Regions from separate parts of the Homo sapiens genome. Here all the other regions are linked to region 1. The links are contacts of gene promoters, found by promoter capture Hi-C in blood cells and fetal thymus (Javierre and others, 2016). All regions are on one chromosome and are shown on one strand. The core of a region is centred on a gene start or on the middle of the fragment in contact, and the rest is flanking DNA. Distances in the headings are between cores, read along the strand shown. Region 1 holds the start of SRRM3 (serine/arginine repetitive matrix 3). Region 2 overlaps POR (cytochrome p450 oxidoreductase). Region 3 overlaps ZP3 (zona pellucida glycoprotein 3). Region 4 overlaps STYXL1 (serine/threonine/tyrosine interacting like 1). Region 5 overlaps STYXL1 (serine/threonine/tyrosine interacting like 1). Region 6 overlaps MDH2 (malate dehydrogenase 2). Region 7 overlaps YWHAG (tyrosine 3-monooxygenase/tryptophan 5-monooxygenase activation protein gamma).

Region 1 (3,367 bases), core at 1-2,500:
TGTTGTTTTTGTTTTTTTGTTTTGTTTTTGTTTTTGAGACAAATTGAGGCTCTGTCACCTAGGATGGAGTGCAATGGAGCAATCTTGGTTCACTGCAACCTTCGCTTCTCAGGCTCAAGCCTTCCTCCCACTTCAGCCTCCCAAGTAGCTGGGACCACAGGTGCATGCATGCCACCACATCTGGCAAATTTTTGTATTTTTCATAGAGACAGGGTTTCCTCATGTTGGCCTGGCTGGTCTCAAACTCCTGAGCTCAGTGATTTCCCACCTCAGCCTCCTAAAATGTTAGGATTACAGATGTGAGCCACTGCATCCAGCCAAAATTTTAAAATTTAAAAAAATAATTTAAAATCTCCTGTCTCCATTAGGATGTCTCTCACACTACACCCTCCTTTTTTTTTTTTTAAATTTTTGAGATGGTGTCAAAAAATGACAGCCTCTGTCATTCAGGCTGGAGTGCAGTGGCGCCACCATAGGTCACTGCAGCCTCAAATTCCTGGGCTCCAGCGATCCTCCCACCTCACCTCCCTGGTGCCTTTTATTTTATTTTATTTTATTTTATTTTTGACCCTAAGTCTTGCTCTTGTCGCCCAGTCTGGAGTGCAATGGTGCGATCTTGGCTCACTGCAACTCCGCCTCCCAGATTCAAGCGATTCTCCTGCCTCAGCCTCCCAAGTAGCTGAGTAGTTGGGATTACAGGTGCCTGCGACCACGCCTGGCTAATTTTTGTATTTTTAGTAGAGACTGGGTTTCACCATGTTGGCCAGGCTGGTCTCGAATTCCTGGCCTCAAGTGATCCTCCCGCCTCAGTCTCCCAAAGTGCTGGGATTATAGGCGTGAGCCACCGCGCCCAGCCCCTGGTGCCTTCTTTAACACTGGGTGGGAAGAGAGTGTCCTGGCGAGGCCTCTGCACACCGACTGCATTTCCCAGATCCAAACTAATAACCTCCCTTGCCCCAGGCGCCTTCCAGGGCTGACATGCCTCCTCTCGCAAGTGGGGGAAACAGATGTCCCCGGGGGCTGGGGATAGGGGCGGGGGTGTGGGGAGGTGAGGGGCGAGGGGAAGGGGGGGAGGGGGGCGAAGGGGGCGGGGAGGAGGGGGAGCCGGCCGGGAGACGGCCCGGCCCAGCCGCCCGGGCTGTTGCCTCCGCTGCGGGCGTTCCTCCAGGCCTGCGGAGGGCGCTGCGGGCGCGGGGCTGGGCCGCTCTGGCTGGCGGGCGAGCAGAGAGGCGCCTCGGTGGCGGTGCGCTGTCCAGCATTTCAGCAAGCGGCGGCAGCACCCGCGGGGAGGCAGAGGGTGCGGGGCCGTGGGGGCCGCGGAGCTGCCCTGCCCAACTCAGCCCAGACTAGGCGGCAGCCCGGACCGGCGGGACCCGAGGGCCTGGCCCCAGCGCCCGGTAGATCGCGGCGGTCAGCGGTGAGGTGAGAGCGCCTGTGGGGCGGGGGCATATCCCCGAGGGGCTGGGGCTGGGTGGAAGCTCGGGCCTCCCCAGCACCCCCGTGGTCTGCAGGCTCCCCCGAGCAGAGGGGCAGTGTGGGAGGTCGGCGAGGGCGTCTGTCCGGGGGTGCCAGGCGCCCGGGGAGCAGAGATGAGGAACATTCATTTCACTGAGAGGGATGGAGACAGTGGAGACCTTTGGGGTCATGGGCAGGACTCCCCTGGGCATAAATGACCATGGCCTAGTCCATGAGGGTGCCAGGGAGGCCCCCCAACCGCAGTCCCACTGAGGAGAAGGACCTGCTCCCCAGGGAAGGGAGGACCGATGCAGTAACCCTGTGGAGATGCTGGTCACTGGCCCTGGTGAAGGGAGCAGGCCCCCACCTGGATGCTGGGCCTCTGTCCAGCAGGAGGTGCCGGCCCAGGGGACAGCCTGGCCCCTTTCCCGGCTACCCAAATGCCCCTAGGGAGGCAGGAGCTGGCAAGGAGAACTGGGTCTCACAGGATGGCATTTACTCTTGCACTGGGAAGAGGATGGAGGACACAGAAGAGAAAATAGCTACTAGGAATTTGGGAGGGGGTTCTCTGTGCACACCCCCCACCCCAACCACGGACGCCCAGAGAGAGTTTCTAGCCCAGAGTTAGACCTGCGCCAGAGTGAATTCCTGGTAAAGAAGAGAGCTGAGAAAAGACGCAGCCTCTGCCTTGCCTCCGCCTCCCCCTCCCTCCCAGGGCTCCTGCCTGGACAGTGTTGAAGCCTCCTGCAGTTCCTACTCCTGACAGCAGATCCATTGTGGGGAGAGATTTAGTGGGAGGAAGGGAAGGTTGTACCAAGGTCTGACGTGGTACTTCAATGCCTGTGCCCTATCCCAGCCATAACTTCTCGCTGTCCTAAGACCTCACTCACCCTAGCATCGGGGGCTTGAGCTGGTCTTTTGTCCCATGGCAAGAGAAAAGGCAGGTGCTGGGCTTTGACGGAGAGACGTGCACAAGTTCCTCTGTCCAGGGAGCATCTTAAGGTCATGGCCCCAGTTTGTGCCAGCTTCTTCCTCAGTCAAAAATAGGACCCAGCTGGCTAGGAAATTGTTCCCACACAGCAGTAGCTTTCTGGTTCCTTAACTTTATGCCCCATCCCACTCTCCTGTGGGGTGGAGGAGGTATTCTTGAAGACTGACTAAAGAGTCAACTGGGTTTTAAGAGGTAGGGGTATGTGGGTTGGGAGTCATGGACTCTGATGTCAGAAAGACATGGGATCAAATCTAGGTTATGTGACCTCAGGTAAGCCATTGACCTTTCTGAGTCTGTTTTCAATCTGTAAAACAGGTGTAGTGTTAGCAATGTCTACTTTGCTGTTGAAAGAAATAATCTGGATAAGGAGATGGGAGACTACTTTTACGGTATAAAATGCTGGGTGAGTGTTAGTAAATAGGAGACAAGTAAGAATTTCTTAAAGAAGAGCTGGATAAATGTGGAATAGTGTTCAGTGATATTTGAAGCACATTTTTCTGTTCCCAGAGGAGATGAACAGTGGTTGAGAGCCTCATGCCCAGCTCCATGCTGGGCACAATGCAACGGTTGACTCAGCTAATCCTCACAGAAGCTTCATGAGGAAGGCATCATTGTCCCTATTTCATAGCTGAGAAATGAAGCTTGAGTGACTTTCCCAAGGTCATGAAGCCACTCGCGCTGTCCTCCTGGAGGCAGGAGAGTTACTGATGACCTGTCCCATCCTCTGAGTATCAAGGCCCAGTTCAATGCCAGTGTCTTGATTTATGATGCCAGCTTTACAGGTGGGGAGCCTGAGGCAGGTGGGTGAGGGCATACAGTGCAGTAAGGAGGTGACTCCCACAAGGTCACTGGGATACTTAGAGGTAGAATGTGCCTTGAACCGGCCAGCGGGGTGCCTCTACCCCGTCACACCTGCCAAAG
Region 2 (3,367 bases), core at 868-3,367, 250 kb before region 1:
TTAAATGAGGGAGTGAATTTTGCAAATAATGAGATGGCCATGTGCAAAGTCCCTGAAACAGAAGGAGGCCAGCGTGACCTGCAAGGTGTGAGGAAGGGGAGCGTAGTAAGAAATGTGGGTGGTGGGAGTGGGTTCTGAGGGCCGGATCGTATGGGCCTTATGAGCTGTGTAAGGACTTCAGGGCTTTGTTGTTGTTGTTGTTGTTGTTGTTGTTGTTTTTGAGACGGAGTCTCACTCTGTCACCCAGGCTGGAGTGCAGTGGCGTGATCTCAGCTCACTACAACCTCTGCCTCCCAGGTTCAAGCGATTCTCCTGCCTCAGCCTCCCCAAGTAGCTGGGACTACAGGCACGCGTCACCATGCCTGGCTAATTTCTGTATTTTTAGTAGAGATGGAGTTTCGCTGTGTTGGCCAGGCTGGTCTTGAACTCCTGACCTCGTGATCCACCCGCCTCGGCCTCCCAAAGTGATGGGATTACAGGCGTGAGCCACTGTGCCTGGCCACTTTAGGTTTTTGTACGAAGTATGATGTGAAGACATCTCAGGGTTTGTTGTTGTTGTTGTTGTTGTTTGAGATGGAGTCTCACTCTGTTCTCCAGCACTCCAGGCTGGAGTCTGGAGTGCAGTGGTGTGATCTCAGCTCACTGCAACCTCCGCTTCCTGGGTTCAAATGATTCTCCAGCCTCAGCCTCCTGAGTAGCTGGGATTACAGGCATGCGCCACTGCATCCGGCTGATTTTTGTATTTTTAGTAGAGACAGGGTTTCACCATGTTGGCCAGGCTGGTCTCAAACGCCTGACCTCAGGTGATCCACCTGCCTCGGCCTCCCAAAGTGCTGGGATTACAGGTGTGAGCCACCGTGCCCAGCCCATCTCAGGGTTTTGATCAGGGAGGGGACATGACCTGACTTACTTTTTTTTTTTTTTGAGATGGAATCTCGCTCTGTCGCCCAGGCTGGAGTGCAGTGGCACAATGTCAGCTCACTGCAAGCTCTGCCTTCCGGGTTCACACCATTCTCCCACCTCACCTCCCTCCTCCTGTTTCTGGGACTACAGGTGCCTGCCACCACGCCTGGCTAATTTCTTGTATTTTTTTTTTTTAAGTAGAGACGGGGTTTCACTGTGTTAGCCAGGATGGTCTCGATCTCCTGACCTCGTGATCCACCCGCCTTGGCCTCCCAAAGTGCTGGGATTACAGGCATGGGCCACCGTGCCCGGACGATCTGACTTACTTTTTAAAGCATCCCCCTGTCTGCTGTGTGGGGAATGGCCCGTCCATCAGAATTCTCTTGCGGTGATTACGTAGGTGCAGATGTACCGCTAACCTCACTCCCAGCGTCGTCGATTTATTAATAGAAACTGCCATGAGTTATGCAATCAGCTTGAGTCTGCGTTGAGAAGGACTTCACATCATGGGCATTAGATCTCTTCTGGAAAATGAGGGGACCGGTCACTTGGGGAGTTAGAAGGGAGGAGGGTGAGGGACAGGGAGCGCGAGTTTCTTGGCTGCTGCCTTGTGATGGATAACAGCTAGACAGCTAGGGGAGCTCCTGTGTCACCATGGCACTCCTGACTGGTTCCAGTGGGGCCCTGACTGTCTGCTGCCTCATGACTCTGTGGGACAAGTCCTTCCAGAATCTGTCAGAGCAGATCCTAAATGCCTCTCTGTCTGGTTCTATGAAAATGTGACAGGTGGCTCATAAGCTTGACAGAGATCCTGATATGACTAGCATTAAGTAAATATTAAATGTGTTTATAAGATTAAATATAAATAGTTTTCTCTGGGGACAACAGAATTCACTTTGTCCTTTAATGTCATATCAAAAAAGCTGGCCAGGTGCAGTGGCTCACGCCTGTCATCCCAGCACTTTGGGAGGCCGAGGCAGGATCACGAGGTCAGGAGTTTGAGACCAGCCTGACCAACATGGTGAAACTCCATCTCTACTAAAAATACAGAAAATTAGCCGGGTGTGGTGGCACATGCCTGTAATCCCAGCTGCTCAGGAGACTGAGGCAGGAGAATTGCTTGAATCCGGGAGGCAGAGGTTGCAGTGAGCCGAGATCGCACCACTGCACTCCAGCCTGGGTGACAGAGCGAGGCTCTGTCCCCCGGCCCCCCCCCCCCCCGAAAAAAAAAAAGTCATATCAAAAAAGCCAAGTTGAGGCCAGGCACAGTGGCTCACGCCTGTAATCCCAGCACTTTGGGAAGCCGAAGCAGGCAGATCACCTGAGGTCAGGAGTTCGAGACCAGCCTGGCTGACATGGTGAAACCCCGTCTCTACTAAAAATACAAAATTAGCCAGGTGTCGTGGCGGGCACCCGTAGTCCCAGGTACCCTGGAGGCTGAGGCAAGAGAATCGCTTGAACCCAGGAGGCGGAGGTTGCAGTGAGTCGAGATGGTGCCATTGCACTCTAGCCAGGGTGACAGAGAGAGACTCTATCTCAAAAAAATAAAATAAAAAAGAAAGAAAAAAGCTAAATTGAGATGAACTCAAGCCATTGGAAAAGCAGCTCAGATTAGTGAGAAAGCAAAGACCCAAGCTTGCGGGCCTGTTCTGAATGGCCTGTTCCCAGCAGGTTGTGTAGCAGTAGACCGATGCCCACAACCCTCGGATGCCCTGGCTTCCCAGACCAGCCCCATGGTTTCCTGGTGACAGTGACAGCCATCAGCAGTCAGCTAGAACATAGTCTCTCATTGCCTAATTGCTGACACATGACTAAGGCTTTCCTGATTGAGTCTGGGTGCTCTGGTTGTGGTGAAAAACCCAGTCGGTCATATCCATGATTGCAAAATGGAATAGTGTGAATTTCAGGGCTGAGCCCAGCCTCCTTGGTAAGCAGCAGAAGCTGCTGTTTCAGGGACTCTCACTTGGACCTTTGTTGACTCATGTCACGTCTGCCTACCAGGTGTCGTTGGTGGAAGGACCAGTTGAGCATCTTATGAGGGAACTAGGCTGGTGACATGGGGGTTCCCCCACCTCCCTCCCGGACGGGGCGGCTGGCCGGGCGGGGGGCTGACCCCCCCACCTCCCTCCCGGACGGGGCGGCTGGCGGGGCAGAGGGGCTCCTCACTGCCCAGTAGGGGCGGCCGGGCAGAGGTGCCCCTCACCTCCCGGATGGGGTGGCTGGCCGGGCGGGGGGCTGACCCCCCCACCTCCCTCCCGGACGGGGCAGCTGGCCGGGCGGGGGGCTGACCCCCCCACCTCCCTCCCGGACGGGGCAGCTGGCCGGGCGGGGGGCTGACCCCCCCACCTCCCTCCCGGACGGGGCGGCTGGCCGGGCGGGGGGCTGACCCCCCCACCTCCCTCCCGGACGGGGCGGCTGGCCGGGCGGGGGGCTGACCCCCCCACCTCCCTCCCGGATGGGGCGG
Region 3 (3,367 bases), core at 246-2,745, 220 kb after region 1:
CCTCCTGCTCTGGGGTAGTACTGAGCTGTGCTACCCCCAACCCCTCTGGCTCTTGCAGGGTGGAGCCAGCCATCCTGAGACGTCCGTACAGCCCGTACTGGTGGAGTGTCAGGAGGCCACTCTGATGGTCATGGTCAGCAAAGACCTTTTTGGCACCGGGAAGCTCATCAGGGCTGCTGACCTCACCTTGGGCCCAGAGGCCTGTGAGCCTCTGGTCTCCATGGACACAGAAGATGTGGTCAGGTTTGAGGTTGGACTCCACGAGTGTGGCAACAGCATGCAGGTAAGAGAGGCTGGGGGCCCTGGCTTTGGTGGGAGGATGTTCGAGGCAGCCGGGTATGGGGACTGTGGCCACCATCGGTGGGAGGTGGGGTTGGGTGGATCCCTCTCACTTGTAGGTGGGGAGGTGGCCCAGTTGAGGCCTGAAGCTGGCACTGAGGTCACCGGACCCAGGGCAGCTCCTGCCTCTGATGCCCGACATTGGGTCGATGGGGTGGAGCCAGAGGTGGCCGTGCACTTCAGGCTGGCCCAAGCCACGCCACTCTCTCTCAGGTGGGTTTGTGACACACACAGGCCTGCGTGATAGGATAGCCCTGTGGGTAGCCTAAGGGGCTGTTTCTAAGGCTGGGGGCATTAGGAACTCATCCTGAAGAGACCCAAAGTATACATTATCTTAAAAACAACAAGTGGGCCGGGTGCAGTGGCTCATGCCTGTAGTCCCAGCACTATGGGAGGCCAAGACTGGAGGATCACTTGAGGCCAGGAGTTTGAGGCCAGCCTGGGCAACATAGTGAGACCCCATCTCTTAAGCCTTTAAAAAAACTAACTGGGGCCTGGTGTGGTGGCTCACGCCTGTAATTCCAGCACTTTGGGAGGCTGAGGAGTTTGAGACCAGCCTGGCCAACATGGTGAAACCCCATCTCTACTAATAATACAAAAATTAGCCAGGCATGGTGGTGCGTGTCTGTAATCCCAGCTACTCAGGAGGCTGAGGCAGGAGAATCGCTTGAACCCAGGAGGCAAAGGTTGCAGTGAGCTGAGATTGTGCCACTGCACTCCAGCCTAGGCAACAGAGCGAGACTCTGGCTCAAAAAAAAAAAAAAAATTCCACATAGATAAGTGGTATGGGGGCGGGGGCATCATAACCTTGGTGTTAAAGACCTTAAAAGCATCAGTGGGTCCCTGGGGGCAGCTCCAAGGGGGAGAGGCTTAACCTGTGGTACATGCAGGAAAAGACCAAGAAATCCAGGCCAGACCTCCCTTTCCCTAGCCAGTGGGGAAAGAGGCTGCAAGGAGAGGCCTTACGGCAGGGCAGGGCTGGGCACACAGCTCCCCAGCTAAACCCTGATCCCTGGACCAAGTTCCTGTGGTCCCATGGAGGGCCTGTCCTCTCCCGCCTCAGGGGAACCTGGCTCCTCCTCACCTGGGCCTAGACCCAGTAGCTTGCCTGGGATGGGGGCAAGTCCAGCCCCTGGAGCCCTCCGGCCAGAGCTCTGGTCTTAACTGTGGTCTCCTGGGCTCTCTTTGAGGACTCGAGGCCCTTGTTTTCCTGGGGAGGGAGGCCAGAGAGCTGCAGGAGTTACTTGAGGAATTATTCCAGTTTAGAGGCTCACAAACATGTCTTAGATTTACTTGGGGAGCCAGGTGCCTGGCTCCCCCCCCTTCTGTGAAATGGGCTTTAATAGGTTAGAAGCTGATAAGTGGTATTTTTTTGTTGTTGTTTTTGTTTTTTGAGACAGTTTTGCTCTTATTGCCCAGGCTGGAGTGCAATGGCGCCTATAATCCCAGCACTTTGGGAGGCTGAGATGGGAGGATCACTTGGGCCCGGGAGTTTAAGGCCACCCTGGGCAACATAATGAGACCCCCTTCTCTACCAAACACCACACACACACACACACACACACACACACACACAATAGGGTGTGGTGGCGCCTGCCTTTAGTCTCAGCTACTTGGGAGGCTGAAGTGGGAGGATTGCTTAAACCCATGATTTGGAGGCTGCAGTGAGCTACGATTGTGCCACTGCATTCCAGCCTGGAAGGCAGAGCAAGACCCTCTTTTATTAACCCCACCTGTGGAGCTTCTAAAAATCCTGATGTCCAGGCTGCTAAAATAGAAAGGATGTGGGACCAGCTGTGGGTAATAAGGATCTCAGGTGACTCCAATGAGGAGCAAAGCCTGCAAACTCCTTCCTCTGGTGTGGTGTTTCCCAGTTTTGCCCGGTGAGAATCACCTGCGGCTGGCCGTGCGCAGTGGCTCACGCCTGTAATCCCAGCACTTTGGGAGGCCGAGGCGGGTGAATCACGAGGTCAGGAGTTCAAGACCAGCCTGGCCACGATGGTGAAACCTCATCTCTACTAAAAATACAAAGAAGTTAGCCGGGTGTGGTGGCGGGCACCTGTAATCCCAGCTACTCAGGAGTCTGAGGCAGAGAATTGCTTGAACCCGGGAGGCGTAGGTTGCAGTGAGTTGAGATCGTGCCACTGCACTCCAGCCTGGGCAACAGAGTGAGACTCCGTCTCAAAAAAAAAAAAAAAAAAAATACAGCCATGGCCAGTTTCCCAGGTATACAACCTGTGCAGTTCTGTGGGGCCCAGTGCTTAATGGAATGCCCTCTTGCCCTGAAATGGTAATAACTTTTGAATAAGGGGCCCCACGAGCTATGCTGGTTCTGTCTGTGCTGGGGCACTTGCTAATAAGGTCTAGGACTATTCCCTGAAGATCGAGTTTGGTCAGGGCCAGGCAGCCACCTGAGCTCTTGGGCAACTTCGACCTCCTAGGCTCAAGCCATCCTCCTGCCTCAGCCTCCTGAATAGCTGGGATGGACTACAGGCACATGCCACCGTGCCCAGCCAAGTTATGTTTTTGTAGAGATGGGGTCTAGCTCTATTGCCCAGGCTGGTCGTGACTTCCTGGCCTCAAGCAATCCTCTTCCCTCCCAAAGTGCTGGGATTACAGGCATGAGCCACTGCACCCAGCCCTCAAGTAGTTTTTAAATAAGCTCCCTGAGATGAGAGGTGGGGATAGTGAGCTTAGAATAGGTGGTTGGGGGTTGAGTCATGGTGGCTCACACCTGTAATCCAGCACTTTGGGAGGCTGAGGCAGGTGGATCACCTGAGGCCAGGAGTTCGAGACCAGCCTGGCTAACATGGCGAAACCCTGTCTCTATTTAAAAAAAAAAAAAAAAGGCACGGTGGCACGTGCCTGTAATTCCAGCTACTCAGAGGCTGAAGCAGAGAATTGCTTGAACCTGGGAGGCGGAGGTTGCAGTGAGCCGAGTTCGTGCCACTGCACTCCAGCCTGGGTGACAGAGCAAGACTGCATCTCAAAAAAACAAAAGGTGGTTAGGAAGTGACTAAAGTAGGGG
Region 4 (3,367 bases), core at 541-3,040, 180 kb before region 1:
GGTGATGGGTTCAATATACAATTCAGTGACTTTTAGTATATTCAGAGTTATGCAACCATCCCCCACAATCAATTTTAGAATGTTTTCTTCTATTTTTAGTATTTATTTGAGACAGAGTCTCACTATGTTGCCCAGACTGGTCTCGACTCCTGGGCTCAAGCAATCCTCCCACCTCAGCCCCTCAAAGTGCTGGGACTACAGGTGTGAGCGACAGTGCCCGGCCTAATTTTAGAACATTTTCATCACCCCTACAAGGGACCCTGTACCACTAATCAGCCACACCCGTTTTTCCCCAAACTCCCAGCTCCACTTAACCACTCATTTCTATGGATTTGCCTATTCTGGACTTTTCATATAAATGGAATAATATGTGATGTTTTGCATCTAACTTCTATCACTTACCATGATCTCTTTAGTGTTCATCTACATTATAGCACATGTCAGTACTTTTATTTTTTTTTTTTTGAGACCGAGTTTCACTCTGTTGTCCAGGCTAGAGTACAATAGCACAAACTCGGCTCACTGCAACCTCTGCCTCCCAGGTTCAAGTGATTCTCCTACCTCAGCCTCCCTAGTAGCTGGGATTACAGGCACATGCCACCACGCCCAGCTAATTTTTGTATTTTTAATAGAGATGGGGTTTCACCACATTGGCCAGGCTGGTCTTGAACTCCTGACCTCAGGTGATCCTCCCGCCTTGGCCTTCCAAAGTGCTGGGATTACAGGCATTATTAGCCACAGCGCCCAGCCCCATTCCTTTTTATGGCTGAGTAATATTCCATTGTGTGGACAGACCACATTCTGTTCTACCTGTTTAGCTGCTGATAGACACTTAGGTTGTTCGTGCTTTTTGGCTATTATGAATAACACTGCTATGAACATTCATGTAAAAGCTTTGGTGTGGATGTGTTTTCATTACTTTGGGGTCTATATCTTAACCTTCTAAAGAAACACCACACTGTTTTCCAGTGACTGCACCATTTTACTTTCTGGTTCGCAGTGTATGAGGCTTCCAATTTCTCCATGTTCTCACCAACACTTATTATCATCTGTCTCTTTGATTATTACCATCCCAGTGGGCGTGAATAATATCTCAATGTGGTTTTGACATCAATTTAATCTTAAACACCTTCATTGATCTGCAGAATCACAATCAGACTGCATGTAAATTAGATATATGTGACAGGAAGTTTGCATAATTAAGGCTAAGCCAAGACATCCTTAAACCAAGATATCCTGAGGCCAGGTTCTGGCCCAGAAAGAGAAATAGTGTGTGGCAGACTTCAGAGAGCCAGATAAAAGGAGAAAGAAAACAGCATGAACTCTAACTGTTTTTTTCTTTTTTTTTTTTTTTTAAATACGTTTTTTTTAGAGACAGGGTCTTACGCTGTCAGCCAGGCTAGAATACAGTGGTACAGTCATAGCTCACTGCAGCCTTGACCACCTGGGCTCAAGTGATCCTCCTGCCTCAGCCTCCTGAGTAGCTGGTGCTACAGGCATGCACCACCATGCCTGGCTAAATTTTTTTTTTTGTATTTTTGGTAGAGACGGGGCCTTGCTATGTTGCCCAGGGTGGTCTCAAACTCCTGGCTTCAAGCAACCCTCCTGCCTCAGCCTCACAAAGTGCTGGGATTACGAGTGTGAGGCACCGTGCCTGGCTAACTCTGCTTCCATATTGAATTTTTGTTCAGGGAGACAAAGACACTTCCAGAAGGGGCTGTGGAGGATATAAGTGGCTGGGACCTATCTGAGAGATGGCATTGACAGGAAGAATCTGGAATCTGCAGCCAGGCTGAGAGAGAATCTGCAGCTCTCAAGACAGGAGCCAAAGCTCACCCCACAGGGCCTGGCTCAGAAGTCAGAGTTCAGGCCAGGCATGGTGGCTCATGCCTGTAATCCATGCACTTTGAGAGGCCAATGCAAGAGAATTGCTTGAAGCCAAGAGTTCGAGACCAGCCTGGGCAACAAAGCGAGACCCTGACTCAAAAAAAAAAAAAAAAAAAGAAAGAAGGGGGTGTTGAGAGAAGCCTTGAGATGGTCTTGTACCCCCAAAGACTTTTCATTGACCTGAAAGATGCCATTTGAAACAAGAAAAGTTGCCTTGAATGCACAAGTTGTGTGGTTGTGGTTTCCTGTGAATGGGGGCCCCATAGCAAAGTAAGGTCAGTTATAGAATGTAAAGGGGATTATCCATGTTGAGTACCATCTCCTAGGGTTTCAAGGCCTAGCCTACAGTCCTAGGATTGCAGACCAGAGCCCAACAGGATGAGCTTAGGGAAGAAGGGACAATTTCCTGGCCAAGGACCTCCTGGGACAAAAGTCCAGACAGCTGGTTTTATGAAAGGTGGGAGCATAGCGCCACCCCGTGGCAGTTGGTGTGAGTGCCCCCAGCTTCTGGAACGGCACCCACAGGTGCAGTTCTGATTCCTAGAAGCAGAGCTCCCAGTGCCAATGGCAAAGGGTGGTCAGCCCAAAACCAGGGGCTAATGAAGAACACAGCAGAGCCTCAGAGGTTCGATGGAGCACATTGGAACTGACCACGCTTTAATGTTCTGACTTGGGGCTGCATGCTCTCGTGCCACTACCCAATCCCTGGGGGACAGGACAGAGCCAAAAAGGCCTGGGTTTGAATCCTGGCCCCACCACTTATAGGTGTGGTGGTTTAAAAATATGTCCACAACACTTTTAAAAGCTTAAGTCTCAGGCAACACAGCAAGACCCAGTCTTTACAAAAAGTAAATAAATGAGCTGGGTACCTTATCTTGCCATATCACCCAGGCTGGTCTTGAACTCCTGGGCTCAAGTGATCCTCCTGCCTCAGCCTCCCCAAGTGCTGGGACTACAGGTATGAGTCACTGGGCCTGGCTTCCTCACAGCTCTTGATGTTAGTTAGCGTCCTTGTAAGCTGTTCTGCAGATCCAAGTAAAGCCCTTGGTTCCTGGTGCATGGCACACATGGAACTGTCCCCATAAACTTTGTGAAATCAGCAAAGAAGGGAGGGGAACAAATGAAAATAAAGCAAGCTTGCAGCACATTCAGCATTCATCACTAAGTCACCTTGCTTGCTCTCCAACCTGCTTGCTCACAGCTGTTTGATGTGTATTGTCCTAGAATCACATAAGACCCTGTTACAAGAATTTTTTTTTTTTTTTGAGAAGGAGTCTCGCTCTGTCGCCCAGGCTGGAGTGCAGTGGCGTGATCTCCGCTCACTGCAAGCTCTGCCTCCTGGGTTCACGCCATTCTCCTGCCTCAGCCTCCCAAGTAGCTAGCAGGGACTACAGGCGCCTGCCACCATGCCCGGCTAATTTTTTGTGTATTTAGTAGAGACGGAGTTTCACCGTGTTAGCCAAGATGGTCTCAATCTCCT
Region 5 (3,367 bases), core at 358-2,857, 160 kb before region 1:
TTGGTGGGGTGTGGTAGCTCACACCTGTAATCTCTGCATTTTGGGTGTCCAAGGCAGAAGGAACTCCCGACCTCAGGTGATCTGTCCGCCTCGGCCTCCCAAAGTGCTGGGATTACAGGCATAAGCCACCATGCCCAGCCCAAAGACACTTACTGTCAAGACAGCAGGGTGCTAGCACAGGCTTTGTCCCTGCACACAGTACACCCACCAGGGGGAAGGTCTGTCACCTTCCATATGACCACCTAGTCTGGCCTTCAAACCAGGGGTTCGTGGGTGGCTCTCTCCCCAAGTCAGCCCAGCATGGTCCAGAAGCTGTTGGGCTGGGAAGCTCCCCTCTAGTGACAGCACGTGTCTATATTTGGGGAAAACAGCCAACTGGGAAGGGATGTTTCATTAGAGGTTGCCAGAGCCTGTGACTAAGCAGGGACCCAGCCAGATCCAGCTCATCTCCCTGCCTCCCTGTGTCTGCTCAACACCCAGGGGACTTCCATCCTGACTGACGGTGGAGGTGTCAGAGGCTGGGCCTGACCACAGGCTTCTTGTAGGAGTTCGAGGATACTGCAGGCTTGACCCAGCGCTCAACTGCCAAGCCACCCTAACCCCCAAGACAGTCCAGGTGGACACAATTGATGGGCATTTGCTTCTGGTGAAGAGACAACACTTGATGATCCTGGAGAAGCCAGACCATGAGCTTCACTTTGAGACTCTGGCTCAAGCTGACCAGCCCAGGTAAGGGTCAGGGTCCACAGCCAATCCCCACCGCTGTTCTGGTTCGCGGTGGGAAGCTCAGGCTGTGCCAGCATGACCAAGGCTTAAACATAGTGACAGGCATCAATGCCCTCACCTGTAAGCTGAGATAATACACACTGGCAAAGCTATAGGATCATTCAAGAGCTAAATGATATAAATTGCCTAGCAGTGGGCCTGACACATGGCAGTAGCTTAGGAAATTCCTTTACTCCTACCCTCTCAGTTTCTTTTCCTGAAACAGGGGCTCACTCTGTTGCCCAGGCTGGCGTGCAGTGGCACAATCATGGCTCACTGCAGCCTCAAGCGATCCTCCCACCTCAGCCTCCTGAGTAGCTGAGGCTACAGGTGCATGCCACCACACCTAGCTAAGTTTTTATTTTTTTGTAGAGACAGGGTCTCGCTTCCGGAAGAGAACAATGGGGAAGAACAGAGAGGTCTGAAGGAATGTGGGGGTGTTTGGTTCTGTGGGATGACATGAGCCTCTCCTCTGTCGTCCCAGAAAAACCTCCCTACTCGTTATGTGACTTCGAGGCTGTCAGGACCTGCTTTATGTTTGGGAATTGAATGACATTTTTTTTTTTTTTTTTCCTGAGACGGAATCTTGCTCTGTCACCCCAGGCTGGAGTGCAGTGGCACGATCTCAGCTCACTGCGAGCTCTGCCTCCTGGGTTCCCGCCATTCTCCTGCCTCAGCCTCCTGAGTAGCTGGGACTACAGGCGTCTGCCACCACGCCTGGCTTTTTTGTATTTTTTTTTAGTAGAGACGGGGTTTCACCGTGTTAGCCAGGATGGTCTCGATCTCCTGACCTCATGATCCACCTGCCTCGGCCTCCCAAAGTGCTGGGATTACAGGCGTGAGCCACCGTTGAATGACATTCTTGAGAATGGCCTCAAGGCGAGCTAACTAACTCTTGTCATATTTGGGTTACATTTTGTTTTGCTGTTTTCTCTTAGAGACAGCGTCTCACTCTGTTGCCCAGGCTGGAGTGCAGTGGCGCGATCGTCACTCACTGCAGCCTCAAACTCCTGGGCTCAAGTGAGCCTCCCACCTCAGCCTTCCGAGTAGCTGGGACTACAAGTGTGCACCATCATGCCTAATTTTTTTTTTTTTTTTGAGACGGAATCTTGCCCTGTTGCCTAGGCTGTACTGCAGTGGTGCAATCTCGGCTCACCACAACCTCCGCCTCCCAGGTTCAAGCGATTCTCCTACCAAGTAGCTGGGACTACAGGCATGTGCCACCATTCCCAGCTAACTTTTGTATTTTTAGTAGAAACGGGGTTTCACCATGTTGGCCAGGCTGGTCTCGAACTCCTGACCTCGTGATCCACCCGCCTTGGCATCCCGAAGTGCTGGGATTACAGGCGTGAGTCACCGCACCCGGCCAACTAATTTTTTTTAGTTTCTGTAGAGTCAGGGTTCCACTATGTTTTCCAGGCTGGTTTCGAACTCCTGGGCTCAAGTGATCTTCCCGCCTCAGCCTCCCAAAGTGGTGGGATTACAGGCGTGAGCCACTGCGCCCAGCCAAGGGTCAGGATCTTAAGGGATTTGGTACAGTCTTTCCTCAATCCCAGCTTGACACATTCTCTGTGGCCTGAACCTTGACAAAGCTGGGTAATACAGTCCCAGGTCACAACACCCCCAGAGCTGTGGAGGCTGCAGAAGTGGGCCTGAAATCTGTCTCTTAACTCAGAGGGACACCAGGTCCCACTGGCACAGAAGAAAGAAAGAGGGAAGAGGAGGAGGAGACCAGGGCCATCATAACCTCCTAACTTTGCCTTGATCATCACTAGTATCTACTATCACCTTTTTTTCTTTTTGTGACAGTGTCTCTGTTGCTGAGGCTGGGGTGCAGTGGCGTGATCTCACCTCACTGCAACCTTCGCCTCCCAAGTTCAAGCAATTCTCCTGCCCCAGCCTCCCCAGTAGCAAGGACTACAGGCATGCACCACCATGACAGGCTAATTTTTGTATTTTTATAGAGACGGGGTTTCACCACGTTGGCCAGCTTAGTCTCAAACTCCCGACCTCAGGTGATCCACCTGCCTCAACTTCCCAAAGTGCTGGGATAACAGGCATTAGCCACGGCGCCTGGCCTCCATCGCTAGTACCTCTATATTTTAGGGAGAGCAGGTATGGATCAGAGGCCTAGATCCAGCCGTCCACATCCCTGCTCCTTGCCTTAGATCTTGCTATCAATTCCATGTCCCCAAACCTAAGCCTGCTAGACCCCTGAGAGGTGCCCTAGTGGTCCTGTAAGGGTAACAGGTCTGCTCATACGGCAACTAGGCTGTCAGGAGGCGGTGGTGGGGTCTGGAAACTACAGCACAGTCTCCAAAGACGGTGACCACCACCTTTGGCTCACTTCCTCCGACTCTGTCTCTGGGGCCTGCTTTTCCTCTGCTCCCTGATTGGGCTCAGGCCCCACCTTCCACTTCTCTGACATGAGTTAATGGCCCTGACCAGGCTGTGACCTGGCTTTGCTCTCCCTTCTCAGGCCTCAGGCTGGTCTGCCTGACAGAAGGCTTCACTGCAGACTCAGATCTGCCACAATCAGCGACTCTCAGCTCTTGGAAGCCCCTTGGTGGCTCTGCTGTGGCCAGTCCAACACCTCCCGGTT
Region 6 (2,500 bases), core at 1-2,500, 140 kb before region 1:
TCTGGAAATTTGTGGTGTTCTCTGTTAACATCTCATATTGGATCATTTCCAGGCATGACCCGGGACGACCTGTTCAACACCAATGCCACGATTGTGGCCACCCTGACCGCTGCCTGTGCCCAGCACTGCCCGGAAGCCATGATCTGCGTCATTGCCAATCCGGTGAGTGTGGCAGCACCCGGCTCTTGCAGCTATGGCAGGTGTTTAGGTGCTGACAGTGCGTGAAAAGCTCACGGTTTGCAGCAAAGGCTGCTGATGTGCTGGGGGGATGGGGGGATACACAGATGAAGGGGCTGAAATGGAGAGGTCGGGTGCACTAAGCAGAGGCCCGTCCGTGCACTTCCTAAGGACTCCTTCCAGCATGAACTGAATGAGGGTTGTCACAGCCAGCCTTGTGCTGTGGGCAGACCACGTCTCTCTCTGCTTTAGTTTCCCCACCTGAAGAGAAGTCCATTCTCAAGGCTCCTTTCAGCCGTGATTGTGGTGGTCTCTTGATTCCCTTTTTGACACAGTAGCTCCTACTTAGCCGGAAAAGTATGTTCCAAGAGCCCAGTAGGTGCCTGAACCCTGAACCCTGTATATACCATGTGTATACTGAACCCTGTATATACCATGTGTTTTCCTAGGCATGCACACCTGTGATAAGTTAATGCATAAACTAGGCACAGTAAGAGATTAACAACAACAACTCATAGTAAAACAATCACAACAAGATACTATAATAAAAGTTATTTCTTTCCCTTTAGTCAGGAACTTCCACCTTCTCGCTTAAGGGAAGTACTTAATGGCTTCTCTGGTTTCTGTTTCTCCAAATTGCCAGCATCACTACTCTTGCGCTTTGGGGCCATTGTAAAGTAAAATAAGGCAACTGGAACACAAGCATCATGATCCCTCAACAGCTGATCTGATAACCAAAATGGCTCCTAAGTGACTCAGGCAGGTGGTGTAGACGCATGGGTATGCTGGGCAAAGGGTTGACCCCTGTCCTGGGCGGGATGGAGCCAGAGTTCATCCTGCTACTCAGGATGGCATGCAGTTTTTTTGTTTGTTTGTTTTTGGCTCTGTCGCCCAGGCCAGTGTGCAGTGGTGCGACCTTGGCTTACTGCAGCCTCTGCCTCCCAGGTTCAAGCGATTCTTCTGCCTCAGCCTCCTGAGTAGCTGGGATTACAGGTGCATGCCACTATGCCCAGCTAATTTTTGTACTTTTAGTAGAGACAGGATTTCGCCATGTTGGTGAGGCTGGTCTCAAACAACCAACCTCAGGTGATCCTCCCGCCTCACTCTCCCAGAGTGCTGGGATTACAGGCATGAGCCACTGCGCCCAGCCAGTTTAAAACCCATGAATTCTTTATTTCTGAAATCTTCCGTGTAATAATTTCAGACCTCAACTGACTGCTGGTAATTAACACAGCAGAAAGTGAAACCATGGATAAGGTGGGACTATCTGCATTCTACTCAGGATTTCCATTCCTGGTCCCCTGTTGTCCCCATTTCCTCATTCACACACAGTCGCGGACACACACACAGCCACCCCAGGCCCCACTCACTGGTTTTTGCAGGTAGCTGCTTACTCTCGGAAACGTTGAGTGCTGCGTCCTCACTGAGAGGGCGGCCATGGTTCCCCAGCTTGACCTGCAGGGCCTTGTGCTCATTTAACAGCAGCCACCTCACTGCTCCTTCCTGGCGGAGCCTGGGTCCTGGTGTCTGAGGATGAGGATCAATTGGGGTGAAGGGGCAGGGACCATGATGTCACTGAGAGGCATGGATGCCAGCAGGCATGCAGAGCTCGTGCTCCTGGCCTCTAAGGGTCCTGCGTTCCCCAGAAGCTCCTCAGGGTGGTGGGTCACAAATAGAGAGCTGCTATTCCCTTTGTTGGGGAGCTAACCAGTGCCTAATAGAAACCTGGCCATTCTGTCATCTTCTGGCGTCCCGGGTGACGTGTTCAGCACTCGCCGTGTGTGAAGTCATTTAGTATTTATGACTTCATGAGGTTGTCGTTTCCCCCACTTACAGAAGAAAAAAACGGGTCCCAGGGAGTTAGGGTGACCTGCCCAGGGTCATAGCACAGAGGGACTGAGCTGCCAGTGGACCTGCTTCCTTGGAGCACACAGCCGCTGTGCACTGCTGTCCCATCAGGAGTGGCCCTGCAGCTGTGAGTCCCGGCCGAGCAGAAGGTGATCCATGGAGGCATCATCACACATTTCAGTTGATAGCTGAAGGGCCACCAAGGGAAGAAGCATCCTCTACAGCAAAGGGTTTCTTTGTTCACATGGTGCGGCCTGTCCTTTCTGGCAGGTGGCTTGCCAGTACAGAGTTATCAGACAGGGCAGTTTAATGTGGCATCTTTGGACTAGTTAGACCTTTGGGAAGGTCTGACAAAAAGCCCTTTTCCTGCTGTGGCTTGGCCCTGCTCTCGGAACCCAGGGCAAGCCATGCCTGTCTGTTGGATGTCCTAGGTTAATTCCACCATCCCCATCACAGCAGAAGTTTTCAAGAAGCA
Region 7 (3,367 bases), core at 440-2,939, 140 kb after region 1:
TCAGCCTCCAAAGTAGCTGGGATTACAGGCACCCACCACCACGCCTGGCTAAATTTTTGTATTTTTAGTAGAGACAGGGTTTCACCACGTTGGCCAGGCTGGTCTCGAACTCCTGACCTCAGGTGATCCACCCGCCTCGGCCTCCCAAAGTGCTGGGATTACAGGCGTGAGCCACGGTGCCCGGTCTTTTTTTTTTTTTTTTTTCAACCTAGCAAGTGCTAGGTATGAGACTTGGCTCCATCTTACATTTTCTGTCCTCCTAGAATTTGAGAATATTGTCACCTGAAAGGGCCAAGGGCCATGAAAAAGAGAAATGCAGTGAGTGCTAAATAGAAACAGAAAGAATGAGATGACCAAGTGCAGGATGTGCGCTGCTGTCCATGTTAAGGATACACCATGCAGACAGTGGATAAACCACTGCAAACGGATGGGACACGGTTCTCCTTCATCACAACTCGTTCGAAAGACAACCTATGTTTACTAAGTAATCAACTAAACACTGAAAATAACCTTATGTATCTGAAATAACACGCCTCAAACATGAACTCCCTTCTGTGCAGAAGAGTTAACATAATAGGCTTCAGTCTGCTGTCTTTCGAAAGGCCTGCTTACAAGGCTGGTCTCTGGCTGGCATCTGAGAACTTGGATTTAGGGAGGGTTCCCACCATTCCCTGATAAAGATGGCTCACTGTTGCCAATCTGTTGGTACAAACGATCTGGTTTATATTAAACCTGTTTTCCTTCTGGGAATCTGGATTTGGACATGTGCTAGGCAGGCAGAGGGTACTTAAGTGACCAGCCCCCAGCTGCTCTCTAACAAGACCCCTGGTAGACAGCATTTCTCACATATTGTCACAGCTTGGAATAATGATGCGTATCCCGTGTGATTTCCCTGGGAGAGGACTCTTGAAAGCTTGCGCCTGGCTTCCTCTGATTTTCATCTCCTGCGCCTCTTCCCTTTGCTAATTTTTTTTTTTTTTTTTGAGATGTAGTCTCCCTCTGCCACCCAGGCTGGAGTGCAGTGGTGTGATCTCGGCTCACTGTGGCCTCTGCCTCCTAGGTTCAAGTGATTCTCCTGCCTCAGCCTCCCGAGTAGCTGGGTCTACAGGCGCCCACCACCACACCCAGCTAAACTTTCTATTTTTAGTAGAGACGGGGTTTCACCATGTTTGGCCAGGCTGGTCTTGAACTCCTGAGCTCAAGTGATCCGCCCGCCTCAGCCTCCCAAAGTGCTGGGATTACCGGCATGAGCCACTGTGCCCGACCCCATTTGCTGATTGAGCTTTGCATACTTCCCAGTAAAAAACTGCAGCCATGAGTACAAGTATTTGCTGAGTCCCAGTACATCACCAAGCCTGGAGGCAGTCTTGGGGACTCTCAACACACATTCATTCCAGAAAACTTGATACATGTTTTATAAGTCCGGTGACCAGGGAAAAGATGATTAATGGCCACTACTTATCAAATAATTAATTCATCAAGCATCCATGGACCATCTAGTATATACATCACATTGTATCACAACGTGAAGACACAAAACACTAGTGGGATGTACTCAAGGTACTCAGTCTACACGGAGAAAATACAACTTATTCACATTGGAGTATCAGTCACAGAGGTATTCTTAACATAGCAAACTGCATGGAAACTTGGAGAAAATTTTAATTAGGAACTAACAACTTTAGTTGGGTTTTTCCAGCAGCGATCACCCTGGCTAAAAATTGTGCAGAGGGAAACATTCATTCGAGGAAGAGGAACAGCCTCAGAGTCGTGAAATTTCTACCCAAGGCCAAGCCAAGGTCTCACAGATGAGAGGAGAGCTGGGTGAGGGCCTGGGTTTGGCTGACAGCGCCAAGTCCCACTCCACAAGGTGGGTATTACACTCGCTTTACAGGTGTGACTCAGAGAAATAACATGACTTTTCCCCAGAGTCACCTCATTAACACTCCACAGAGCAGAAAAAACTCCAGCCCTCAGGCTGCAAATCTTGTGCTCTTTTTCTATGCTAAGAGTCTCTGATGATGTAACTTCTGCAACACCACAGAGAACCAGCTAATTTCTCTAATACATGAAAACCTCCAGAGAATTTCTAAGATCAATCTTAGAAACAGAAAATCTCAGTAACAGAAAAATGGAAAAAAGGAACGGAGAAAAGGAAAACAATAGGAAAAATGCTCAACCTCATTCATTCTGTGAATTGTTCTCTGATCACAATGCCAAGGCTTCATTGTGAAGGTGACGGTGTGGGTAACAGGCACGTATCCACTGGTCATGTGCATATGACAGAATTCTAGTTGGCACTAAAAATCACCTGTGCATTCACACGACATTTCTAGAAGGGTCTCAAAACCAGACTGGCTGGGAAGCAGTCAAGGTTGATTAGGTTGAATTTTGTACCGATGACTAGTAGTACTTATTCCAACAAACCCTCTCCACAATTTACCCTGTTATTCATACCTACAATTGAAGCTTAAAGCCAATCTTGAAAGCCAAGTTTTCAGAAAAGCCCAAAGCCAGTAATTTTATATAAACAGTTTATGGATGTATACAACAAACTCAAACCACACTTCTTTGCTTTCTGTGTGTTTTAACTTAGTTGTATAAAAATAATGGTAATAGGCTGGGCGCGGTGGCTCACGCCTGTAATCCCAGCACTTTGGGAGGCCAAGGTGGGCGGATCACCTGAGGTCAGGAGTTCAAGACTAGACTGGCCAATATGGTGAAACCCCATCTCTACTAAAAATACAAAAATTAGCTGGGCATGGTGACGCACACCTGTAATCCCAGCTACTCGGGAGGCGGAGACAGGAGAACTGCTTGAACCCGGGAGGCAGAGGTTGCAGTGAGCCAAGATCACACCACTGCCCTCTAGCCTGGGCAACAGAGCAAGATTACATCTCAAAAAATACATATAAAAATAATAGTAATAATAATGTATAAAAATGATAAAGATACAATGAAGAACAAAGGATACCTTTATACGGTTAGTAATAACATACAGAATACATTCTATACTGTTGACCCTTGGACAACACAGGTTTGAACTGCACAAATCCACTTAAATGTGAATTTTCCTCCACCTCTGCCACTCCTGAGACAGCAAGCCCAATCCTCTTTATCCTCCTGCTCAGCCTATTCAACACGAAGACCGTAAGGATGAAGACTTTTACAATGACCCACTTCCACTTAATGAAGAGTAAATACAGTTTCTCTTATGCTTTTCTTAATAATATTTTCTGCCAAGTGCGGCGGCTCACACCTGTAATCCCAGCACTCTGGAAGGCCAAGGCGGGTGAATTGCCTGAGCTCAGGAGTTCGAGACCAGGCTGGCCAACACGGTGAAACCCCGTCTCTACTAAAATACAAA

What was found. Contacts are between HindIII fragments. The CHiCAGO score rates a contact against its expected background, and 5 or more counts as called.
Region 2: a contact is called between a fragment that was not itself captured here and the fragment with the promoter of SRRM3 in region 1, in 1 of 17 cell types (endothelial precursors). The highest score is 5.1, in endothelial precursors.
Region 3: a fragment that was not itself captured here is called in contact with the fragment with the promoter of SRRM3 in region 1 in 1 of 17 cell types (total B cells); the score reaches 5.7 in total B cells.
Region 4: a fragment that was not itself captured here is called in contact with the fragment with the promoter of SRRM3 in region 1 in 1 of 17 cell types (megakaryocytes); the score reaches 5.8 in megakaryocytes.
Region 5: a fragment that was not itself captured here is called in contact with the fragment with the promoter of SRRM3 in region 1 in 2 of 17 cell types (megakaryocytes and M1 macrophages); the score reaches 6.0 in megakaryocytes.
Region 6: a contact is called between a fragment that was not itself captured here and the fragment with the promoter of SRRM3 in region 1, in 2 of 17 cell types (M1 macrophages and M0 macrophages). The highest score is 6.3, in M1 macrophages.
Region 7: a fragment that was not itself captured here is called in contact with the fragment with the promoter of SRRM3 in region 1 in 3 of 17 cell types (naive CD8 T cells, endothelial precursors and naive CD4 T cells); the score reaches 5.9 in naive CD8 T cells.

What each region holds. Positions count from the first base shown.
Region 1 is chr7:76,200,646-76,204,012 of GRCh38, forward strand. It overlaps SRRM3 (serine/arginine repetitive matrix 3), which reads left to right and starts at 1,251. Exons shown (of 15, transcript NM_001110199.3): 1 at 1,251-1,422. RefSeq lists a silencer at 1,098-1,337. The HindIII fragment of the contact is 9,812 bases long and covers 1-3,036 here.
Region 2 is chr7:75,948,953-75,952,319 of GRCh38, forward strand. All of the region lies in intron 1 of POR (cytochrome p450 oxidoreductase), which reads left to right. Among named protein-coding and RNA genes, the nearest start is that of SNORA14A, 6.9 kb to the left of the region's middle. The HindIII fragment of the contact is 837 bases long and covers 1,700-2,536 here.
Region 3 is chr7:76,424,994-76,428,360 of GRCh38, forward strand. It overlaps ZP3 (zona pellucida glycoprotein 3), which reads left to right. Exons shown (of 8, transcript NM_001110354.2): 1 at 1-283. Among named protein-coding and RNA genes, the nearest start is that of ZP3, 1.7 kb to the left of the region's middle. The HindIII fragment of the contact is 6,728 bases long and covers 1-3,367 here.
Region 4 is chr7:76,017,944-76,021,310 of GRCh38, forward strand. The region is part of intron 4 of STYXL1 (serine/threonine/tyrosine interacting like 1); the gene reads right to left. Among named protein-coding and RNA genes, the nearest start is that of TMEM120A, 25 kb to the left of the region's middle. RefSeq lists an enhancer at 1,252-1,753. The HindIII fragment of the contact is 1,799 bases long and covers 892-2,690 here.
Region 5 is chr7:76,037,103-76,040,469 of GRCh38, forward strand. The region is part of intron 1 of STYXL1 (serine/threonine/tyrosine interacting like 1); the gene reads right to left. Among named protein-coding and RNA genes, the nearest start is that of STYXL1, 9.2 kb to the right of the region's middle. The HindIII fragment of the contact is 8,407 bases long and covers 1-3,367 here.
Region 6 is chr7:76,057,917-76,060,416 of GRCh38, forward strand. It overlaps MDH2 (malate dehydrogenase 2), which reads left to right. Exons shown (of 9, transcript NM_005918.4): 4 at 53-162; 5 at 2,457-2,500. Among named protein-coding and RNA genes, the nearest start is that of MDH2, 11 kb to the left of the region's middle. The HindIII fragment of the contact is 5,688 bases long and covers 1-2,500 here.
Region 7 is chr7:76,336,570-76,339,936 of GRCh38, forward strand. All of the region lies in intron 1 of YWHAG (tyrosine 3-monooxygenase/tryptophan 5-monooxygenase activation protein gamma), which reads right to left. Among named protein-coding and RNA genes, the nearest start is that of FPASL, 20 kb to the left of the region's middle. The HindIII fragment of the contact is 1,556 bases long and covers 912-2,467 here.